Regions from separate parts of the Homo sapiens genome. Here regions 1, 2, 3, 4, 6 and 7 are each linked to region 5. Evidence: promoter capture Hi-C in 16 types of primary human blood cells and fetal thymus (Javierre and others, 2016). All regions are on one chromosome and are shown on one strand. The core of a region is centred on a gene start or on the middle of the fragment in contact, and the rest is flanking DNA. Distances in the headings are between cores, read along the strand shown.

Evidence for each region. The method cuts DNA at HindIII sites, captures the fragments that hold promoters and counts their contacts. A CHiCAGO score of 5 or more calls a contact.
Region 1: a contact is called between a fragment that was not itself captured here and the fragment with the promoter of HAT1 in region 5, in 6 of 17 cell types (total CD4 T cells, naive CD4 T cells, neutrophils and 3 more). The highest score is 10.4, in total CD4 T cells.
Region 2: a contact is called between a fragment that was not itself captured here and the fragment with the promoter of HAT1 in region 5, in 2 of 17 cell types (neutrophils and total B cells). The highest score is 8.1, in neutrophils.
Region 3: a fragment that was not itself captured here is called in contact with the fragment with the promoter of HAT1 in region 5 in 1 of 17 cell types (total CD4 T cells); the score reaches 5.7 in total CD4 T cells.
Region 4: a contact is called between a fragment that was not itself captured here and the fragment with the promoter of HAT1 in region 5, in 4 of 17 cell types (neutrophils, naive CD8 T cells, naive CD4 T cells and 1 more). The highest score is 9.1, in neutrophils.
Region 6: a fragment that was not itself captured here is called in contact with the fragment with the promoter of HAT1 in region 5 in 6 of 17 cell types (naive CD4 T cells, non-activated CD4 T cells, activated CD4 T cells and 3 more); the score reaches 10.6 in naive CD4 T cells.
Region 7: a contact is called between a fragment that was not itself captured here and the fragment with the promoter of HAT1 in region 5, in 4 of 17 cell types (naive CD8 T cells, total CD8 T cells, non-activated CD4 T cells and 1 more). The highest score is 7.1, in naive CD8 T cells.

What each region holds. Positions count from the first base shown.
Region 1 is chr2:172,576,488-172,579,380 of GRCh38, reverse strand. The region is part of intron 8 of PDK1 (pyruvate dehydrogenase kinase 1); the gene reads right to left. Among named protein-coding and RNA genes, the nearest start is that of PDK1-AS1, 21 kb to the right of the region's middle. The HindIII fragment of the contact is 2,148 bases long and covers 246-2,393 here.
Region 2 is chr2:170,932,805-170,935,504 of GRCh38, reverse strand. All of the region lies in intron 1 of GORASP2 (golgi reassembly stacking protein 2), which reads right to left. Among named protein-coding and RNA genes, the nearest start is that of GORASP2, 4.9 kb to the right of the region's middle. The HindIII fragment of the contact is 5,206 bases long and covers 1-2,700 here.
Region 3 is chr2:172,594,148-172,597,002 of GRCh38, reverse strand. It overlaps PDK1 (pyruvate dehydrogenase kinase 1), which reads right to left. Exons shown (of 11, transcript NM_002610.5): 11 at 1-1,174. The coding sequence ends at 1,034. Among named protein-coding and RNA genes, the nearest start is that of PDK1-AS1, 39 kb to the right of the region's middle. The HindIII fragment of the contact is 2,178 bases long and covers 247-2,424 here.
Region 4 is chr2:172,508,869-172,511,706 of GRCh38, reverse strand. The region is part of intron 1 of PDK1-AS1 (PDK1 and ITGA6 antisense RNA 1); the gene reads left to right. Among named protein-coding and RNA genes, the nearest start is that of ITGA6-AS1, 44 kb to the right of the region's middle. The HindIII fragment of the contact is 2,843 bases long and covers 1-2,805 here.
Region 5 is chr2:171,920,811-171,923,820 of GRCh38, reverse strand. It overlaps HAT1 (histone acetyltransferase 1), which reads right to left and starts at 1,360. Exons shown (of 11, transcript NM_003642.4): 1 at 1,314-1,360. The coding sequence starts at 1,320. LOC105373740 (a long non-coding RNA gene) reads left to right here and starts at 1,432. Exons shown (of 3, transcript XR_923579.2): 1 at 1,432-1,782; 2 at 2,590-2,741. RefSeq lists enhancers at 1,086-1,135, 1,276-1,924. The HindIII fragment of the contact is 14,743 bases long and covers 1-1,821 here.
Region 6 is chr2:172,490,619-172,493,517 of GRCh38, reverse strand. It overlaps ITGA6 (integrin subunit alpha 6), which reads right to left. Exons shown (of 26, transcript NM_000210.4): 21 at 2,396-2,494; 22 at 2,187-2,297; 23 at 1,995-2,093. All of the region lies in intron 2 of PDK1-AS1 (PDK1 and ITGA6 antisense RNA 1), which reads left to right. Among named protein-coding and RNA genes, the nearest start is that of ITGA6-AS1, 26 kb to the right of the region's middle. The HindIII fragment of the contact is 4,096 bases long and covers 1-2,899 here.
Region 7 is chr2:172,548,439-172,551,334 of GRCh38, reverse strand. All of the region lies in intron 1 of PDK1-AS1 (PDK1 and ITGA6 antisense RNA 1), which reads left to right. Among named protein-coding and RNA genes, the nearest start is that of PDK1, 6.2 kb to the left of the region's middle. RefSeq lists enhancers at 1,020-1,761, 1,762-2,504. The HindIII fragment of the contact is 2,623 bases long and covers 10-2,632 here.

The sequences.
Region 1 (2,893 bases), core at 70-2,569, 660 kb before region 5:
TTGCTCCCATCTGCTCCCCCTCCCTCCAATCAATATGCAATCAGAGTGAAACCAGCAGCCTGGTAGCTGCTGGGAAGACTGTATTTATTTGACCTGACTCTGAGCTCCCCAGTACAAAAGTCTTGCACCCCACCCCCATCCCTGGAAACATCTGTCAAAAACAATTAGAAGTAACTGATTAATTTGAGGGCTGCAGAAGAAACTGGACAACAGCTAGGGCAAACAATAAGGCTAACCAAAAAGCTTAACAGGAAGGTCTAGGGAATGAGATAGCCATAGGGGCTTTGAAAACCTCAGCTATCTCCTGGGAATCTGGAAGGCCATACTCATGCCCAGGGTCATGCTCAGGAAAGACACTGAGAAGGCCCTAAGCTCTCACCTCTAATTGCTCTATGCGAGCAGGACCTAAAGGTTAAGGCACAGTTGTTAACTGCCTGGCTGAGTGTTGAAGATATTCTCCTGAACACTTCTATACACACACAGAGTCCCTTGGCAAAGACTGGGAAACTTACTGATTCCAGGTATTTGAGGAAATCTCAGTCCAGTCATTAGCTGACCACTAAGCTAAATGAGCAGAGACTTCAGAAGCCACACACAACAAAGAATTCAAACTTAAAAGAATTAACTCCAAAAAAAAAAAAAATTACAAAACAACAACAAAGACAGCCTTGGGGAGACAGCAGTATCTGATCTGCAGAGCTGTCAAAATATATTATTTTAAATGTCCAGTTTTCTATAAAAATAACAAGATATGAAAAAAACAAAAAAGTATTGCCCATACACAGGCAAGGAAAAATCAGTCAATAAACTATACCTGAGTCAGTAAACTCACACTCCGTAAACAAACACTAAAGAACTAAAGTATAAGGATGTCTCAAAATAGAAAATTTTAAACGATACAACAATAAAATATAGGGCAATAAAATGATATGCATCAACATTTAGCAAAGGTGAAAAAAACAGGATAGATATTATATAAGAGAACTAAGTTGAAATTCTGGAATTGAGAAGTACAATAAATGAAATGAAAAATAAACGAAATGAAAATTTCACTAGAGGGGTTCAACAGCATATTTGAGCATGTGAAAGAAAAGAATCAGTGAGAGTGAAGACAGGTCAATTGAAATTATCCAGTCTGAGAAACAGAGAAATGACTCATCACATATGTGCAATATTCAATAAGATTGTAACAGCTGATTTCTCATCCAAACCATGGAGGCTGGAAGGCAGTGAGATAACATATTCCAAAGTGCTGAAAGAAAAAGACTATCAACAAGAATTCTATAACCAGCAAAACTATCCTTCAAAAATGAAGGAGAAATTAAGACATTTCCAGATAAGCAAAAACTGAGAGAGATGATCACTGACAGACATGGGCTATCAAGAAATACCAAAGGGAATCCTTCAGGCTGAAACAAAAGGATACTAGACAAAACATTGAATCCATGTTTAGAAATAAACAGTGCCAGTAAAAGTTATTACAAAAGTAAATCTAAAGGAAAATATGAGTATATTTTTTGTTTGTAACTCTTTTTGTGTCCTATCTGATTTAAAAGACAATTGAATAGAACAATAATTATAAATCTCTGTAGACAGGCACACAATGTACAAAAATGTATGTTATATGACAATAACAGCACAAAGGATGGGTGGGGAGGGGAAAAGGCCTATTTAGGAGAAAAGTCAGTGTATACTATTGAAAGCAAATTGGTATTAATCTGAACTAGATTATAAATTAAGGTGTTAATTGTAATCCCCAGGATAATTACTTAAAAAACTCAAAGAAATATAGTAACAAAAACAAGAACGAAATTAAAATGATATAATACAAAATATTTTAACAAAAGACAGTGATAATGGAGAAATAATAAAAAATGATATGACATATATTGAAGACAAAACGGCAAACATAAACCAAAATTACTGTTAATTACATTAATAGTAATTATATTAAATTTAATTGATCTGAACATTCCAATTAAAAGGTGGACATTGGCAGAATGGTTTTAAATTCTAACTGTATGCTATAAAGAGACACATTTTAGACTGAAAGGCACAAAGAGGTTTAAACTAAAAGTCTGGAAAGTTACACTATGAAAACAGAAACAAAAAGAGTTGGGATGGTTACACTAACTTCAAACAAAATATACTTTTAAACAAAAACTGTTATAAGAGACAAAATAGTACATTTTTTAATGATATAAGGTTAATACACAAAAAAGAGATAATAATTAAAAACATATATGTACTCAACAGAGCTCCAAAATACATGAAGCAAAACTGATGGAACTGAAGGGCGAAATAGACAATTCAACAATAATTGGAGATGACTTCAATACTCCACTTTCAACAATGGATATAACAATTACAAGATCAACAAGGAAAGACAAGCTTGTACAACACTGCAAACCTACTAAACCTAATAGCTATCTGTAGAACATTCAACAGCATCAGAATGCACACTTTTCTCAAGTACACATGGAACATTCTCCAAGACAGACCCTATGTTAGGCTGTAAAACAAATCTCAATAGATGTATACTTGAAATCATACAAAGTATGTTTCCAATCACAACAGAATGAAATTTAAATGATTAAGAGAACACATGGGAAATTCACAAGTATGTGGCAATTAAACAACACAATCCTATTAACCAATGGGAAAAATCCAAAAGGAAACTAGAAAATACTTTGAGATGAATGAAAATGAAAACAAAACATTAAAAACTTGTAAGATAGACAAAGCAGTGCTTAAAGTAAAATTATAGTTGTAAAATGTCTCAAATGAATAACCAAAACTTCCACCTTAAGAAACTAGAAAAACAGGAGCAAAATAACACCACAGCAAGCAGAAGGAAGGAAATTATAATAAAGCCTAGAGTGTAATTAATGAA
Region 2 (2,700 bases), core at 193-2,692, 990 kb after region 5:
GGTGGGCAGATGACTTGAGGTCTGAAGTTCTAGACCAACCTGGCCAATAAGGTGAAACCCTGTCTCTACTAAAAATACAAAAATTAGTTGGGTGTGGTGGTGGGTGCCTATAATCCCAGCCACTTGGGAGGCTGAGGCAGGAGAATCACTTGAACTGGAGTGGCGGAAGTTGCAGTGAGCTGAGATCGCGCCACTGCACTCCAGCCTGGGTGATAGAGCAAGACTCCATCTCAAAGAAAAAAAAAGTGTATATAATCAACATGAAACTACTAATTTGTTCAAGGCCTATTAATATTAGAAAAAGTTTATGTTCAATGATATAATTCCTAAAAGTATCCCAAGATTTATATACATTGTATTCCATGGCTTCAATAAACTGAGACATCCTGATTCCTACATTTGAAAGCAATTTAAAAGAATGTTTATTAAACAACTTCTGGGCCTTTTATTAGAAAAGATCAATTTTGGGCCTGGCACAGTGGCTCACGCCTGTAATACCAGCACTTTGGGAGGCCGAGGCCTGTGGATCAGCTGAGGTCAGCAGTTCGAGACCAGCTTGACCAATAGGGTGAAAGCCCATCTCTACTAAAAATACAAAAATTAGCTGGGCACGGTGGCAGGAACCTGTAATCCCAGCCACTCTGGAGGCTGAGGCAGGAGAATTGCTTGGACTTCGGAGGCGGAGGTTGCAGTGAGCTGAGATTGCACAACTGCACTCCAGCCGTGGCAACAGAGCGAGACTCCATCTCACAAACAAACAAACAAACAAAAAAGAAAAAAAAGGAGAGATCAATTCTGGGGGCAGGGTCAGACTCTTCAGGTTTCACAATTATAACTTTATATATAGAAAACAATACCAAATAACCCTACTGTTTTCTTTTTACCCATTGTTTCCAGAATGAGTGAGAAGGGAGCCAGAGTGAGATTTCTGTGTTAGGGGATGAGGTAGGGCGTGGTGGCTAACACCTGTAATCCCAGCACTTGTCGGAGGTGGAGGCGGGTGGATCACTTGAGGTCAGGAGTTCGAGAACAGCCTGGCCAACATGGTGAAACCCCACCTCTACTAAAAATACAAAAATTAGCTGGGCGTGATGACAGGTGCCTGTAATCCCAGCTACTTGGGAGGCTGAGGCAGGAGAACCCGGGAGGTTGCAGTGAGCCGAGATGCGCCATTGTACTCCAGCCTGGGCAACAAAAGCGAAACTCCATCTCAAAAAAAACAAAACAAAACAACAACAACAACAACAAAAAAAAAAACAGGGTATGAGTTTCAAAAGTTTGAGAAAGACTGTTAGAAGAATAAAGAAGACAATGACTATTGAATATCAGAAATTAATTTTTTCAAAATAAGTACTAAATTGAAATCCCATCACAACAGGATTGCAGATAGGTTAGTTAGGCACCATTTAAAAAGAGCAGTACCTTTGGGAGACCTCATCTCTGACAAAATAGAAAAAAATATATAAAAAGAGCAGTTCCATATGATAGAAGATATGGTGTAGGCATTGCATTTTCTATAGAAGTAATTCCACTTGCAGTCACTTGCTTCTCTGAGAACACCTAAATGTTACCCAGTCTGCAGCAAATAGCTCAGAAGATAAAAACCTGTTATTACACTCGTGACACATTTCATGTCAATGACCCTTCCTTCAAAATATCCATCACCTCAAAATCTCTCCCAGAAGCAAGCATGAGAAAGAATGAAAATGCCATTTTCCATGTCTCCACACTCCACACAGTCTCCACACTGAATACTTGCTCCAGAAAGTATGCCCTCAGCTATTCCCCATCTCTTTTAAGTGTGGAACAGAATATGAATATTTTAATTTAAAAGCAGATCCTATAATAGGCATCTGTGAGGTCACTCCAAAAATTTAATTTTGTGAACTATGTCACTAATAATTTTTTAGAGAACCTTGTTTATTACCTTTCAGCTTTATTTTCCTGAGCACTCAAATGTACCTGCACATACACAGGGTGTTTGAAACACAATTTTGAGCGAATGTATAGCATTCTATCTGTGGTTAGGCCCTGATTTGTTTAACAATTTCTCACCTGTTGGATATTTTGGTTTAATTTAATTTTGAAAATGGTCTTGTTGGGTTCACTGGATAATTAATGGAAAATATAGGCAAAAATTTGATATTAAACATAGTTCACATGTAGGGGGTAACTTACAATAACTTCAAAAACTGAGAAGCCCTAACATTTTTCCTGCCTTACATTAGGATTGGAGGACCAAAATAAAAGTGCCATTCATAGTGAGCACAAATCTGACCCACTATATAAGGAAATCTGAAATGCTATTTTTTAAAAAAAGACTTCTACACAAATTTTTAAATCCTCCACTAGGAGTCCACTTCTTTTTTAAAAGTAATTTTGCATATCTACACTTTGGGTGACTATACAAGTATTTAATGATCACTTCAGAAATCCTAGAAAATATATTAAAGTTAAAAAAAAAGTCACCATCCACTAATAATTTTTTAGACAACCTTGTTTATTACCTTTCAGCTTTATTTTCCTAAGCACTCAAATGTACCTGCACACACACAGGGTGTCTGAAACACAATTTTGAGTGAATGTGTAGCATTCTATCTGTGTTTAGGCCCTGATTTGTTTAACAATTTCTCAGCTGTTGGCTATTTTGGTTGTAATGTTAACCTCTTAAGATAACTTTTGGCCATATAGTCCTTGAAT
Region 3 (2,855 bases), core at 86-2,585, 670 kb before region 5:
GTTTCTGTCTCCTCGAGTCTATAAATCTGACTTTAAATAGGTGGAAACCAAAACCTACAGATGTTACTTTAGCAAATGCTGTGTCATCACTGTTTACTTTGAAAGAGTGGTTCCCAACCTAGGGTAGGCATCAGACTTACCTTGGAAGCATTTTAAAAAGTGAGATTTCTAGGCTCTAGCCCTAGGGATTCCGATTCAGTGTATCTGGAGTAGGATGCAGAAAAGCTCTATTTTTTTCCAAAAGCTTTCTAGGTAATCTCAACAAGCAATCAGTTCAGTTTTGGAGACATATTACTTTGCCCTCAATTTCTTCTCTATTTTAGTAGCTGCTAGTTTGTTTGTTTGTTTTCAGTATAAAAATTTCCCCTTGCATTAATCAGAAGTACACTTAGAAAAGATGGCCCATGATTTTGGCATAGATCCACAGAGAGCTAGTCATTACACTTCTTTACAATAAAATTTAAAAATGGTAAATTAACCTCAGAGCTAAGACAATGCATGTAGACGCCGAAGGGTGGCTGGTTCTGTGATTACAGGCCAACTGTTTTCTGCTTTACTTGTAGTCAAGTCACTGATAAACATGAAGACCATATTACAGCTGTCACTACCGAATAAAAGATGGCAGAACTCCTCCAAATAACAGGAAGATGGCTAACCAGCTAATCACTATCATTTAGAAAATGTTTCTAGCAAACATAAATGAAAGTATTTCTTAAAAAAAAAAAACTAGTTTCCTATAGAAACCCGAAGATTTCCACACTTCTGAAGTCTACCACAAAGTGAAAAGTTGCCCAAAACTACAGTTGTTTAAAAATATGTTCAATTAACTGTGAAAATATAAGTGTAAAATAGGTGCAATTTCATCCTTTAGGAGGTTTAACGGGCACAAATGGAATTCAGTTTCCATTTATTCTACTCAAATAGTTTTGTGAAAACGATAAATAAAGTACTTGGTATAATATAGTTCTGAACACCATACCTTCCAAATTTAATACAAAAGCCACATTTGGATTTTCCGATGTCCCAAGTGTGTCTAGGCACTGCGGAACGTCGTCATGTCTTTGGGTTCTCTGCTGGGGACGCACCAGTCATCAGCCTCGTGGTTGGTGTTGTAATGCTTCCAGGCAGCTTTGTTATACACTGGGAGTCTTTCTATTGAGTCTGTTGACAGAGCCTGAAAAAGAAAAACCTAAGACCTATTAAGTCTGGCATTTTTTAGAATTCATTATTTGAGAAAATAGACAATGGCAAAAAGGTTACGACAAATTAAATAATATTCTATTAGTATCTTATTAATCCTTATACCACCTAAATATACTTTTAAATGGTATGTATATTTGAAACGTGTTATTTATGAAATCTATGGCACTGACTGATGTGCAGGTTGACTGAGTTTGTTGCTTACAGTAATTCCCCAGCCATCCTGGAAGCTGCTGGACTGAAATTTTACACAAAACATGACCCAGATCAGAGTTGGCTAACTGAAGAAGTTGGTTAAATGTAAAAGCATACAAATCGATATATGTATCTTAATAGATGCACATAAATTTAATGAACTCTATTTTAATTATTTACTAGAAGAAATAGTGTTTTTTTCAGCATAGTCACTGTGCTTTAAAAAAAACTCATCACAAGCCAGGCACGGTGGCTTATGCCTATAATCCCAGTGCTTTGGGAGGCTTACACAGGAAGATTGCTTGAGCTCAGGAGTTGGAGACCAGCCTGGGCAACATAGCAAGATCCTGTCTCTACAAAAAATAAAAATATCAGCTGGACATGGTGGCACATGGGTGTAGTCCTAACTACTTGGGAGACTGAGAGAGGAGGATCACTTGAAGCCCAGGGGTTCAAGGCTGTAGTGAATTATGATTGTACCACTGCACTCCGGCCTGGCAACAAAGCAAGATATTGACTCTATAAATACATAAAAATTTAAAAACTCATTATAACATTATTAATAAATAGAAATCTATGTCTAAGGCATCTTAGCTTTTTCGTGAACATTTATTGGCCCTGGGTTTGAATCTGTGTCTTCTCCGGCCTCCAATTTCAGTCACTGTGCACAAGATTTCTGCATCATGCATGATTTCAGTTTTCCATATATTATTACCAGTAATTCTCCATTGTATTTCAGCTTCCTATAAGTCACTGGAACCTGAGATAAACTACATTTCTAGTTATCTTCTTCAAGTTAGGATTTTTCAGTAGTATTTCCATCCCAGGCCAAAGGCATTTCCTAAGATGCAGAACACCCTGAACAAGAAAATCTCATTCTGATAATGCTAAAGTCTTTGATGTTGACAATTTTAATGATTCTCTAAGACTTCTTATCTTCTATTTTCCCTAAGGTAGAACAAAAAACCTTTCACCTCCATATTTCTCTAAATATTCCAGAATTTCTTGATCTACAGGCTAGATCAAGCTTGTCCAATCCACAGCCCACAGGCTGCATGCGGCCCAGGATGGCTTTGAATGAAGCTCAACACATTTGTAAACTTTCTTAAAACATTATGAGATTTTTTTTTGTGCAATCTTTTTTAAGCTCATCAGCTATCATTAGTGTATTTTATGTGTGGCACAAGACAGCTGTTCTTCCACTGTGGCCCAGGGAAGCCATAAGATTGGACACTCCTGGGCTAGATCAAAATGTTACATTTTGTCATAAAAACATTGCACTAGGCCAGGTGTGGTGGCTCATGCCTGTAATCCCAGCACTTTGGGAGGCCAAGGCAAGCGGATCACCTGAGGTCAGGAGTTCGAGATCAGCCTAGCCAGCGTGGTCAAACCCCATCTCTACTAAAAATACAAAATTAGTCAGGCGCCTGTAATCCCAGCTATTCGGAAGGCTGAGGCAG
Region 4 (2,838 bases), core at 135-2,634, 590 kb before region 5:
TTCATTACTGATTTAGATAAGTCTTTATAACCAGATCAACATGTCACTGCTTCTGTGGGTCAGCTACTAGAACTGGCACATTGTTTCCCATTCCGTTGTAATGCTATTCACTGTCATGGGATTTTCCTTCTCACGGGGCAGGAATCTTAAAAGCATGGCCTGTAAGAGTAGCCTACAACAAATGTCAGCTATCCTGTCAAGACGGTGAAAGCTATATATTTAGATAAACAGACTTAACTGCACCCCAGTCAGTCCTTATCCACACATTTGAGGATGTTAGGGGTTTGGAAGTTGTGTAGAAAGACATAAGACAGTGTAAGCCTAGGTTATAATCTTATTCCTTATACCATTATACCTTATGCCATTTTACAGGTGAAGGAATTAAGGCATCAGGCATTTAAACTTGCCCAGGTCATACAGTAAAAAGTGACACAATAGGGACTTGAATAAAGACTGGCTCTAGAGACCCTTGACACCCAAAGAGTAATCCATAGATCAGTAGTATTGCAACACCTGGAGGTTGTTAGAAATGTAGACTCTCAGGCTGTTTCCTAGACTGTTTAAATCAGAACCTGAATCAACAAGATCCTCAGGTGAGTCTTAGGCATGTTAAATTTTGAGAAAGACTGCTCTTAACTTCTCTAATTGAGACTTCCTGACCACCAGTGGCTTCCTCAGGTAAGAACCCCAGAACTTCAGTTCCATCAGCAATTTGAGGACACCTTGGCATCAGGCAGTCCCCCAATCTTCCTATGGAAGAATGCATGTATATGTATGTTTTTTGCCTTTACATAGTCTTTCAGTCCATGCATTATTGTGACATGTGGGAGGCAGGAGTTTTCAAATTTGTTCTTCCAGTGACAAACTCCGTTCTAACACACATGGTGTAACTCAGGTGCAAGATGAGCTCTGTGAGCATTTCCTCTTCTGCACAGCAGTAAAGGTAATAAGCAGTAAAACTGTGGCTTGCCTTCCCACTAAAGGAAACCAAAGAAATCGATGGTGTGTAAAGAACTCTGAGAAAAGGTTCAAAAAGAGAATCTGCTCTTTTCACACTCTTCCATGTCAGCGGGGAGAAAAACACAAAGATTCAATACCTAGCGATTTCAAGATGCTTTGTTGATTATCTTAACATGTCATCTTTCTGACCCCAACCGAAGACTGCATTATGGTCACTGTATTAAGGGTTGAGACAGAATTTAACATAGAAATAAGGTCACTCTTGTCGTTGTTCAGAATGATCTATGTTGATAAGGACTTTAAGAGGTTCATCGTATTTTTTTTTTGTAGTTATAACACCCACTAGTAAGACTTAAGTTGGTAGACACTGAAGAATGAGGAGACAAAAGGTTCCCGTGACAATAAAAATAAACCGTGTCTCCCCATCTGTGAAACGAGGAAGTAGAACTAGATTTCCATGCTTCCTTCCCTTTTTAAGATTTATGGTTCTATATAATAAACAAGGGTAAGTATAAAAGTAACTAGTAAGCACTTCCAGATGGTCCAATTTTCTCTTTACAAGAACCTCTGGGCTGGGTATGGTGGCTCACACCTGTAATCCCAGCACTTTGGCATGCCGAAGCAGGGGTGGATCATCTGAGGTCAGGAATTCAACACCAGCCTGGCCAACATGGCGAAACCCCGTCTCTACTAAAAATACAAAAAATTAGCCATGCATGGTGGCGGGCGCCTATAATCCCAGCTGCTTGGGAGGCTGATACAGGAGAATTGCTTGAACCCAGAAGGCAGAGGTTGCACTGAGCCAAGATCGTGCCATTGCACTCCAGCCTGGGCAGCAAGAGTAAAACTCCGTCTCGATGGAGCCAGACTCCATCTCAAAAAAAAAAAAAAAAAAAAAAAAAAAGAACCTCTGAGTGAGCACTTATCTTACAGGCCAAGAAACTGGGCACAGAGATATCCGTAACTCACCCAAGGTTATGTTCTAAGAGGAGAAGCTAATTCACACCTGCAGCGTGGCTCCAGAGACATGCCCTTATGCACCGCTCAGCTGCCTCCCTGCCTATAGCAAATGCACCTCTAGCTTCTCAGCTCCTGTTACTGGTGCAGTGGAAGTACCACAAACAGGAACGAGGCATTCCACACAGTGAGCATATTATTTTGATAAATATTCACAACATCCAATAATCTCTAAAGTAGTTCTCAATCCTGGCTGCACTTTACGAGTCAGCTGGGGAGCTTTAAGCAGCGCTAATTTCTGGGTCTCACTCAGATTCTCATGTAGTCAGTGTGGCAGATTGTCCAGCCATCGGGATTTTAATAAATGTATTTCTTTGGTGATTTAAATGTGTAGACCTGCTTAAGAATGACTCTAAATTTTCTGGGAATGGGGTTGTTCTGGGGGCAAGTTCTGCCCACAAAGGTTCAGGTATTGACTTTATTTTTTTTTTTGAGACAGAGTTTTGCTTTTGTTGCCCAGGCTGGACTGCAGTGGCGCAGTCTTGGCTCACTGCAACCTCTGCCTCCCAGTTCAAGCGATTCTCCTGCCTCAGCGTCCCAAGTAGCTGGGATTATAGCCATGTGCCACCACCACACCCGGCTCATTTTTTGTATTTAGTAGAAACGGGGTTTCACCATGTCAGTCAGGCTAGTCTCGAACTCCTGACCTTATGTGATCTGCCTGCCTCGGCCTCCCAAAGTCCTGGGATTACAGGCGTGAACCTCCACGCCTGGCCAGGTATTGAATTTATGTGTCAATCATTGATATCTTAGGGTTTTAAATTCTGCTACCTATAAAAAGTGAATTCACTTATGCTTGTCAATACCATCTGTAGTTTCAGATAAGCTTCCTATAAAAGGTCAGAGCCAGTGTCTTACGTA
Region 5 (3,010 bases), core at 111-2,610:
TTGAAGGGCATCCAACTACTAAATGATGGGCCCAAAATTCGAATTTAGATGTAATTCTTAGAGTACGTCCTCCCTCTTCTGTGGTACTTCAAGATCCTACAATCTCCATCTGGTAGAAAAGTCCTTCTTTAAACATCTGTAGAGCTCACACAACAGCTTGTCTATCCCACATATTCATAAAAATGGAATGGTTAATGTAGAGAGACTATGAGGAATGCCCTGTAAAGAGATGATAAAAGCAACAAAGGCCAGCGAAGTGGCTCAATCCTGTCATTCCAACACTTTGGGAAGCTGAGGCGAGAGGATGGCTTGAGGCCAAGAGTTCCAGACCGGCCTGAGGCAATACAGCCAGACTCTGTCTCTAAAAGGTTAAAAAAAATTGTTTTTTTTTAGCCGAATGTTGTGGCGCATGCCTGTAGTCCTAGCTACTCGGGAGGCTGAGGCAAGAGGATCGCTTGAGCCTACGAGGAGTTGGAAGCTGCCCGGAACTATGATCGCTGCACTCCAGCCTGGGCGACAGAGAGACCCTGTCTCAGGAAAAAGAAACTGTCCATAACTTCAAAAGATAAGTAATCGAAAAAAATAATCACACCAAAACAGCCTTAATACACGTACAAAGTAATAGCAATTATACATTATTAAATGTTGTAACTTGAAGGGTCTCTAGAATGTACACAAGAGAATTGTATTATAGTAGTCCAACCCTAAAAGAGAAGGGAGCAGTTCAGGAACAAAGTCTTTCTCAAAGGGCATCTAAATACGATCCTCGGAATACTAAAGTGTGACAGATTAACGAGACGACTACGAAGTCAGTCGAGATCCAAGTGGGAGCGCCAGAGCAGGGCAAGGCAGCAATGCGCTAGCTCAGAAGTTGACTGTAGTGGAAGGTAGACGGAGACCTGGAAGAGGAGGAGGATCTGAGCATTAAAATCAGCTGGCGGGAACAGGACCAGATGTACAAGAGCTGAAGCAAGCAGCAGTGGACAAAAGGAATGGGAAGAGAAACAGGCCCCAAGGCATGTGGCATTTTACGAGCCCAAATCATGACGCTTTTCCCTGGCGTCTTCGGCCCTCGGTAGGGGCCGGATTGCTGGCAGAAGGCGCAGAACCCCAAGCAGTTGGGGGCGGGGGCGCGGACCGCCGCCAACAAGGAGCTGCTGGGCTGAGAGTTCCGCGCTTCCGGTCCCAAGCAGGCCTTCTGGAACCCAGGCTACAGCCCGAAAGTTCTAGGCGGGCATTGTCACCACCGTCTCGGCGTTCTATCCCCGATCTGGCCGCCTCCTCCCCTTGGTAAACTTTTCCCGGTAACTTACCCGCCATTTCCGAGCTACGATCACCCGCGGCTGAGGAAGGACGAATCAACCCGCGCGCTCCCGGGCCGGAAGTGACCGCACAGTCTGACATATTTTCCCCGCCCACTCCCAGCGTGACGTTAGCCAATTAAAGGAGGCGTGTCCAGGAGCCCGGCGGCGGAAGCGCCTCAAGAGGCGGGGCTAACGCCGAGAAGTCTGCGCGGGCCGTTGCCTAGCCACTGCGAATGCCGTCAGCCGCTTTGCAGGCCTGAAGTGGAGAAGGAGGCCGCAAACGGACTTTCGCGGTTGAGATGCTCTCTGGCCCTAGGAAAGTTTCTCTGGGGTTGATTTGATCAATACAGACACTTTACGCCTGTTTTCCATACCCGTCCCTGAGATGTTTTGGAGACTGGCTGAAAATCTTTCCTCTTGGCCTGGACAGTGCATCCAAACACCTGAGCCCTGTGGGCAATTTTACCATTTTACCTAGGTAAAATGTAGAGGTTGAGTTTCAGTTGCGGGAGAAGCTTTCACTTGTTTTCCTCATTTGTTTCTCATTTTGCTGTAAACTTTAACACCTTTTTTCCTTTCTCCCCTGTTTTTAACGTATACAGTATGATATTTAGGTACTCTGCTTTCACTCTGCAGGTTACTAAGAACCGTTTAGCGCGCAAAAATCGTTACCTAGGCCGGGCGCGGTGGCTCACGCCTATAATCCCAGCACTTTGGGAGGCCGAGGCGGGTAGATTGCCTGAGCTCAGGAGTTCGAGACCAGTGTAGCCAACATAGTGAAACCCCGTCTCTACTAAAAATACAAAAATTAGCCAGGCATGGTGGCAGGCGCCTGTAATCCCAGCTACTCGGGAGGCTGAGGCAGGAGAATCGCTTGAACCCTGGAGGCGAAAGTTGCAGTGAGCCGAGATTGCGCCACTACACTCCAGCCTGGGCAACAGAGTGAGACTCCGTCTCAAAAAAAAAAAAAAATTGTTACCTAATAAATACCTCAAGTAGCCTGATGTAGTCTTGCATGCCACATGTCCTAGTGGTTTGAATTACATCACAAGGTGCTACCTGATTTTAGCCATAGGCCTTGTTAGTATTTAGTAGCTGTAGGAACTGCTTTCCCCAGAGGATAAACCACTATTTAGGTATCCACAAATATTCCCACAATGTTGGCTATACACCAGAATTCCTTATCTCAACAAATATTTGTTAACAGGTTTTACAGTGATGCACGCTAAAGCTAAAATGGACCCTTGGGATGATGGTCTAGAACTAACACGCCCTCTCATTTTAGAGATGAGGAAACCAAAGCCCAGAAAAGATAAACTGCCCAAGTTCATTCTCAGTATGCAACCTATGCAGAGTGCAGTTCATCAGATACTCAGCCCAGTATTTATTTGCTCAACTATATAGAGATGGCTTTCCTGAAGATAAAGATCAGAAAAGGTACTGAGAATGCCCAGATCCTTTTTCTTTCTTTTTTTTTTTTTTTTTTTTAGACGGAGTTTCACTCTTGTTGCCCAGGCTGGAGTGCAATGGCACAATCTCAGCTCACCACAGCCTCCGCCTCCCGGGTTCAAGCGATTCTTCTGCCTCAGCCTCCTGAGTCGCTGGGATTACAGGCATGCGCCACCACACCCAGCAATTTTGTATTTTTGTAGAGACGGGGTTTCTCCATGTTGGTTAGGCTGATCTCGAACTCCCAACCTCAGATG
Region 6 (2,899 bases), core at 157-2,656, 570 kb before region 5:
ATAAAGTATCTAGTAAGCTGCAGACATTTTATTAAGGCTTCATTAATGTTAGTCCCTTCCCTCTAAAGTGTTCTCTGTCTAGCTCTGAAATCTCAGTGATTTTCAGAGTTGCTGATTTACAGTTATAGAAAGCTATACCTGCTGCCTTTATAGATGCAGAGAAAGGATCCTTAGGGAAGGTGTGGTTTATTTGAAAGTCCCTTATGATGCCTGTTGATATGTCCTGGAGAGACCGGGACAGTGCTGGTTGATACCACTTATCGCAGCAGCTTGCCCAGTACAGCATTTGTCTCAGGCAAATGTATCCTGGGGCTGGGTGCAGTGGCTCACACCTATAATCCCAGCATTTTGGGAGGCTGAGGCAGGCGGATTGCTTGAGTCCAGGAGTTAAAGACCAGCCTGGGCAACATGGTGAGACTCTGGCTATACAAAAAAAACTGAAAAATTAGCTGGGCGTGGTGGCATGCCTGTGGTCCCAGCTACTCAGGAGGTGAGACAGGAGGATTGCTTGAGCCCAGGCATTCAAGGCTGCAGTGAGCTGTGTTTGCGCCACTGCACTCCAGCCTGGGTAACAGAGCAAGACTCCATCTCAAAAAACTAAATAAAAACAAAAATGTATTCTTGCTTGGATAATAAATCGTAAGGACTGCTATATTTCAGAAAACAGAATGATTAGGGAGGCTCCCTGAATTTTCAGCTAGCTAAATGACTGAAGCCAGAACATTTCCATAAGTAGACTGGCAGATTAACTTAAGAACAGTAATTCACAGTATTTCTTTCTCCAGTCTCTTTTGCAAAACATTCCCATTCATTATTCCCACCATGACATGCAGTCATTCTGCCTCGAGATCTTTATACAAGTCCCTGTGGGTTCTAGACTCCCACAGGGAACCCCTCACTATTGGTTCACTACAAGGTTCTACACCTAGTCCTATTCAACATATTTGTCATTACCTGGATGAAGACATAGAGAACATGCTTCTCAGTTTTTAAAACTTTCAGGGATAGAAAGTTGAGAAAGCAAATGATGAAGCAAGATTCAGAATTACTTTGCAAACTGAAACAATGGACCCAAAGCAAATCACATAAAATGTAAGGATACACTTAAAGGCATACATTTAGATTTTTACAAATAGCTCAAGGACAGGATACTGGAAACACAGCTTGACAACAAATTCTGATGAAAACACCTGGAAGTTTCAGTAGAACACTAACACAAAAATAGCAGCTGCTAGAAATTCAAACATGCTGCTCAGCAATGGTTTGAAAAAGCAAATTTTAGGCAGGTCTGACAGAAGTGTGGTGCCGAGATGCTGAGAGGTAAAGGCCCCAGGGTAAGTGGGACCAAGCAGACCCCACCTCAGCTGCTCTGTCCACGTGGGAATCAAATTGCCCAGGAAGGGAGAGGCCAGGAGCCAGTTCAGCTGTGCCCAATGTGACGCATAACTCAAGAGCTGGGTGCATAAGCTCTGAGAAGAATAAGAAACATCCAAGGAGGCATGACCATTTCCTTCAATTATTTGAGAGGCTGCTACATGGCCAAGAGAGAGAACTTATTTTAGACTTGTTTGAGGGGCATAACCAGGGACTTACAAGGTTCAGTTCAGGAGTCAGCTATGAAGAGATCTTTTTTAATAATTACAGCTGGCCAAGGGATGGGCCATCACTGGGGCATTACACCAATGGCTGCAGCATTAGAGATGGTAGAAGACACAGGTTTCTAGAGGGCTGTGAGGTGCACCCATTCTCTGAATTGAGCCAGTAGTTCTCAAACCTACCATGGGCACTGCTGAACTGGATGACCCTAGATTTACTTCTTTTTTTCAATGATTCTATTAAAATACAGCTTGCAGTGCCAGTACCTTAAGACAGTTTTCTCCGTAATGGGGCTATGAGGGAAATGAGCACCAAAGCACATGACTTCAGGACATGAGTGTGGGGTACAGGGAAAAGAGACATGTTCTGAACCTGAATGAAGCTGGGGAACCTCTCACCTGAGTGCCTGCATTTGGCAGCCTGATATTTTCGGCAGCAGCAGTCACATCAATGAAGGCTCGCATGAGAATGTCCAAGTAGTTCAGTTTGGAATATTCCTGTTTGGAGACAGTGAATGCATTAGGGAAGTGAAAAGTGTCCTAGGCAAAGGCAAATTACTTCCATGGGACAGCCTCAAGCCAAGGTCATACCTCTAGAAATGTGCTGTTCCATAACCTCGAGCGCAAAATAAGAGACGCCTTGCTGTCCAGCCCCCGCAGCGGGCATCTGATGTTCACACAGTTCACGTTCACGCTACAGTTCTAGAGAGAAAAAGAAGAATGGTCATCAAAAGACATTGTTCTGAAGAAATCCTTCCCCTCATCCTCTCAAATATTCACAGCTCTTGAAAAATACTTACAAGAGTCTGGTATTTTCTTTCAGCAAATAAAGAAAATTTTCTGTTATCATCTATCTGTTTTTCAGTAATTTCCCGTTTCTTTCTTGAGTTGTGAGACTCCTGAAAAAAATTATATCCAAAATAGTTCCAATTTATGTAATTCTTTGTCATTACCATACAAGCCTCTTGAGCATATCCTCCCAAACAGTGCCAGATTCACATAATCAACAATATTTGCCTCTCTCCTGCCAAAGGCACAGAAGTAAGTGTAAAACCAGCAAGTATTATCACTCTAAATTCAAGTTTATTGATTTACTCATAGGACTAAGTAATTCATTCCCACTCTGACCTTAAAACTCAGAGAAAGAGAAATATGCTTTCTTTGTTCCTCTGTATCCCCACCAAACTGTGGGCATACTGAGATCAGAGATCAAATCTTATTCCTGTATCCCTAGCCTCCAGCTCTGTTCCTAAAACATGGTAGTCAGCACATCTTGAAGGAATAAGTGACACTGAAGAACAGAG
Region 7 (2,896 bases), core at 72-2,571, 630 kb before region 5:
ACTGAAGCTTTTATGTGTTGTGCTTTTGTGAAAATTGGAGGAAAGGATGAATTTTTTTTATGAGAGTTTGTGGCAATGGAGATAGACTTTGCACACAAAGAGTCTGAGTGGTGGTGGGGTGGGGGGTACTATAAATGAGACTATGAGCCTCAAGAATTTACAGACATGGACAGGGAGAACTCTAGACTTTCACAAACTGAGACTGGTAATGTTAAAAGATAAATTTGGGCACATTAAAAGTTTTAAAAATTTATTTGAACTGTTGATTTAAAAAAAAGACTCAAACTCTGTAAAATATTTTAAGAGATTTATTCCGAGCCAAATGTGAGTGACCAAGGCCTGAGGCACAGTCCCAAGAGGTCCTGAAAACATGTGCCCAAGGTGGTCGGGTCATAGCTTGATTGTGTACAGTTTTAGGGGAACAGAAGTTGCAGGCAGACATCACTCAGTACATGTAAAGCGTACACTGCTTTGGTCTGAAAAGGCAGGACAACTTTAAGACGTAATATAGGGGGATTGGGAAACTTGTGGCAGGAGGGGGCTTCCAGGTTATAGGGAGAGTCAAAGATTTTCTGACTGGCAATTGGTTGAAAGAGTTAAGTTACTATCTCAAGACCTAGGATCAATTGAAAGGAGTGTCTGGATTAAGACAAGGGGTTGTGGAGACCAAGATTCTTATTACACAGATAAAGGTCCCACATAGCAGGCTTCAGAGAGAACAGATAGTAAATGTCTCTTATCAGACCTAAAAAGGTGTCAGACCTTAAAAGGAAAAACCTGGAAAGGGAAGGGGATCCTCTACAGAATATAGATTTTCCCCAGAAGAAATAGCTTTGCAGGGCTAGTTCAAAATATGTCAAAAAAATATGTTTTGTAGTAAAACACTTCAGTTTATTTCAGGACCTGCTATCTGTCATGTGTTGCTACTGAGGAGTAAATTCTGATTTTTTTATCTTGCCCAAATTCCTATCTAAGAGTTCTGGGGAGTCATGCCCTACAAACCATAAATTCTCATCAGATGGGTTTTATTTAACCCTATATATCGAGACTTACTTTTCACCCTGACTCTGGAATAACATTACATGACAAGGAAGAAAAGCAAAATATTTTATCCCAAAACATGTTTTTTTGCCATATCTTGAAATGGCCCTGCAAATCTGTCTTTTGTGGGGGAAAATTTGCATCAGTAAAGAATCTCTATTAACATAGCTAGATCTTTTACTTCCAGGCCCTCCCAATCCTAAAAAGATTAACTTAAAGTCTAGCACCTTTTAAAGATCTGAATAGGAAACGTTTGTCATCTGTTGTCTCTGAGGGCAGCCACAATAAAACTTCAAAAGAACCTTGGTCTCCACAATCCTTTATCTTAACCTGAACATTTCCTTTCTGTGATCTCAGGTCTTTAGATAAACTCAACCAATTGTAAATCAGAAAATGTTTAAATTTACCTATAGCCTGGAAGCCCCAACTTTGAATTGTCCTACCTTTCAGGACTAAACCAATGTATTTCTTAAATGTATTTGATTGATGTCTCATGCCTCCCTAAAATGTATAAAACCAAACTGTGCCCCAATCACCTTGGGCACATGTTCTGAGGACCTCCTGAGAGCTGTGTCACGGGGCCATGGTCACTCATATTTGGCTCGGAATAAATCTCTTCAAATATTTTACAGAGTTTGGGAGTCCTCGGCCTCCCAAAGTTCTGGGATTACAGACGTGAGCCACTGTGCCCAACCTTGTAACTGTTTCTTATCAGACTTTAAAAAGGTGCCAGAGTTAGTTAATTCCCTTCTGAATCAGGGAAAGTACTTGGAAAGGGAAGAGGATTCTCTGTAGAATGTAGATTTTCCCCACAAGAGACAGCTTTGCAGGGCCATTTCAAAATATGTCAAGAAATATATTTTGGGATAAAATCTTTAGTTTCTTGCAGAACCTGCTCCTTGTCATGTTGGTATCTTAGGCTACAAACAGTCTGTTTTGTCAGATGTAAAATCTCTATGTTAATGTTAATGCTGGTCAGCTGTACCTAAATTCCAGAAGGGAGGACAGAATAATGAGACATGTCTGACCCCGCCTTCCCATCATGGCCTGAACTAGTTTCTCAGGTTAACTTTGGAATGCTCTTGGCCAAAAGGAGGGGTCCATTCAGTTGGTTGGAGGGTTTAGAATATATATATTTTTTGAGACAGAGTCTCACTCTGTTGCCCAGGCTGACGTGTAGTGGCATGATCTCAGCTCACTGCAACCTCCGCCTCTTGGGTTGAAGTGATTCTCCAACCTCAGCCTCCCGAGTAGCTGTGATTACAAGTATGTGCCACCACACCTGGCTAATTTTTGTAATTTTAGTAGAGATGGGGTTTCACCCTGTTGGTCAGGCTGGTCTTGAACTACTGACCTCAGATGATTTGCCCACCTCGCCTCCCAAAGTGGTGGGATTACAGGCCTGAGCCACTGCCCCAGCCGAATTTTATTTTTGGTTTACAAGGGAGAAGCTCATTGGGTAAACCAACTAAGGAGGGGCAGAATAACCAAATACTTATTTTATTTTGTTAATCCTTTCAGAGGTGCAATGGTTTTCACTCACATCTGTGTGAAGAGACCACCAAACAGGCTTTGTGTGAGCAATAAAGCTTTTAATCACCTGGGTGCAGGCGGGCTAAGTCCGAAAGGAGAGTCAGCAAAGGGATATAAGGATGGGGCCATTTTATAAGATTTGGGTAGGTAAAGTAAAATTATAGTCAAAGGGGGGTTGTTCTCTGATTGGCAGGAGTGGGGTTCACAGGGTACTCATTGGGGGAGCTTTTGAGCCAGGATGAGCCAGGAGAAGGAATTTCACAAGACAATGTCATCAGTTAAGGCAGGAACAGGCCATTTTCACTTCTTTTGTGGTGGAATG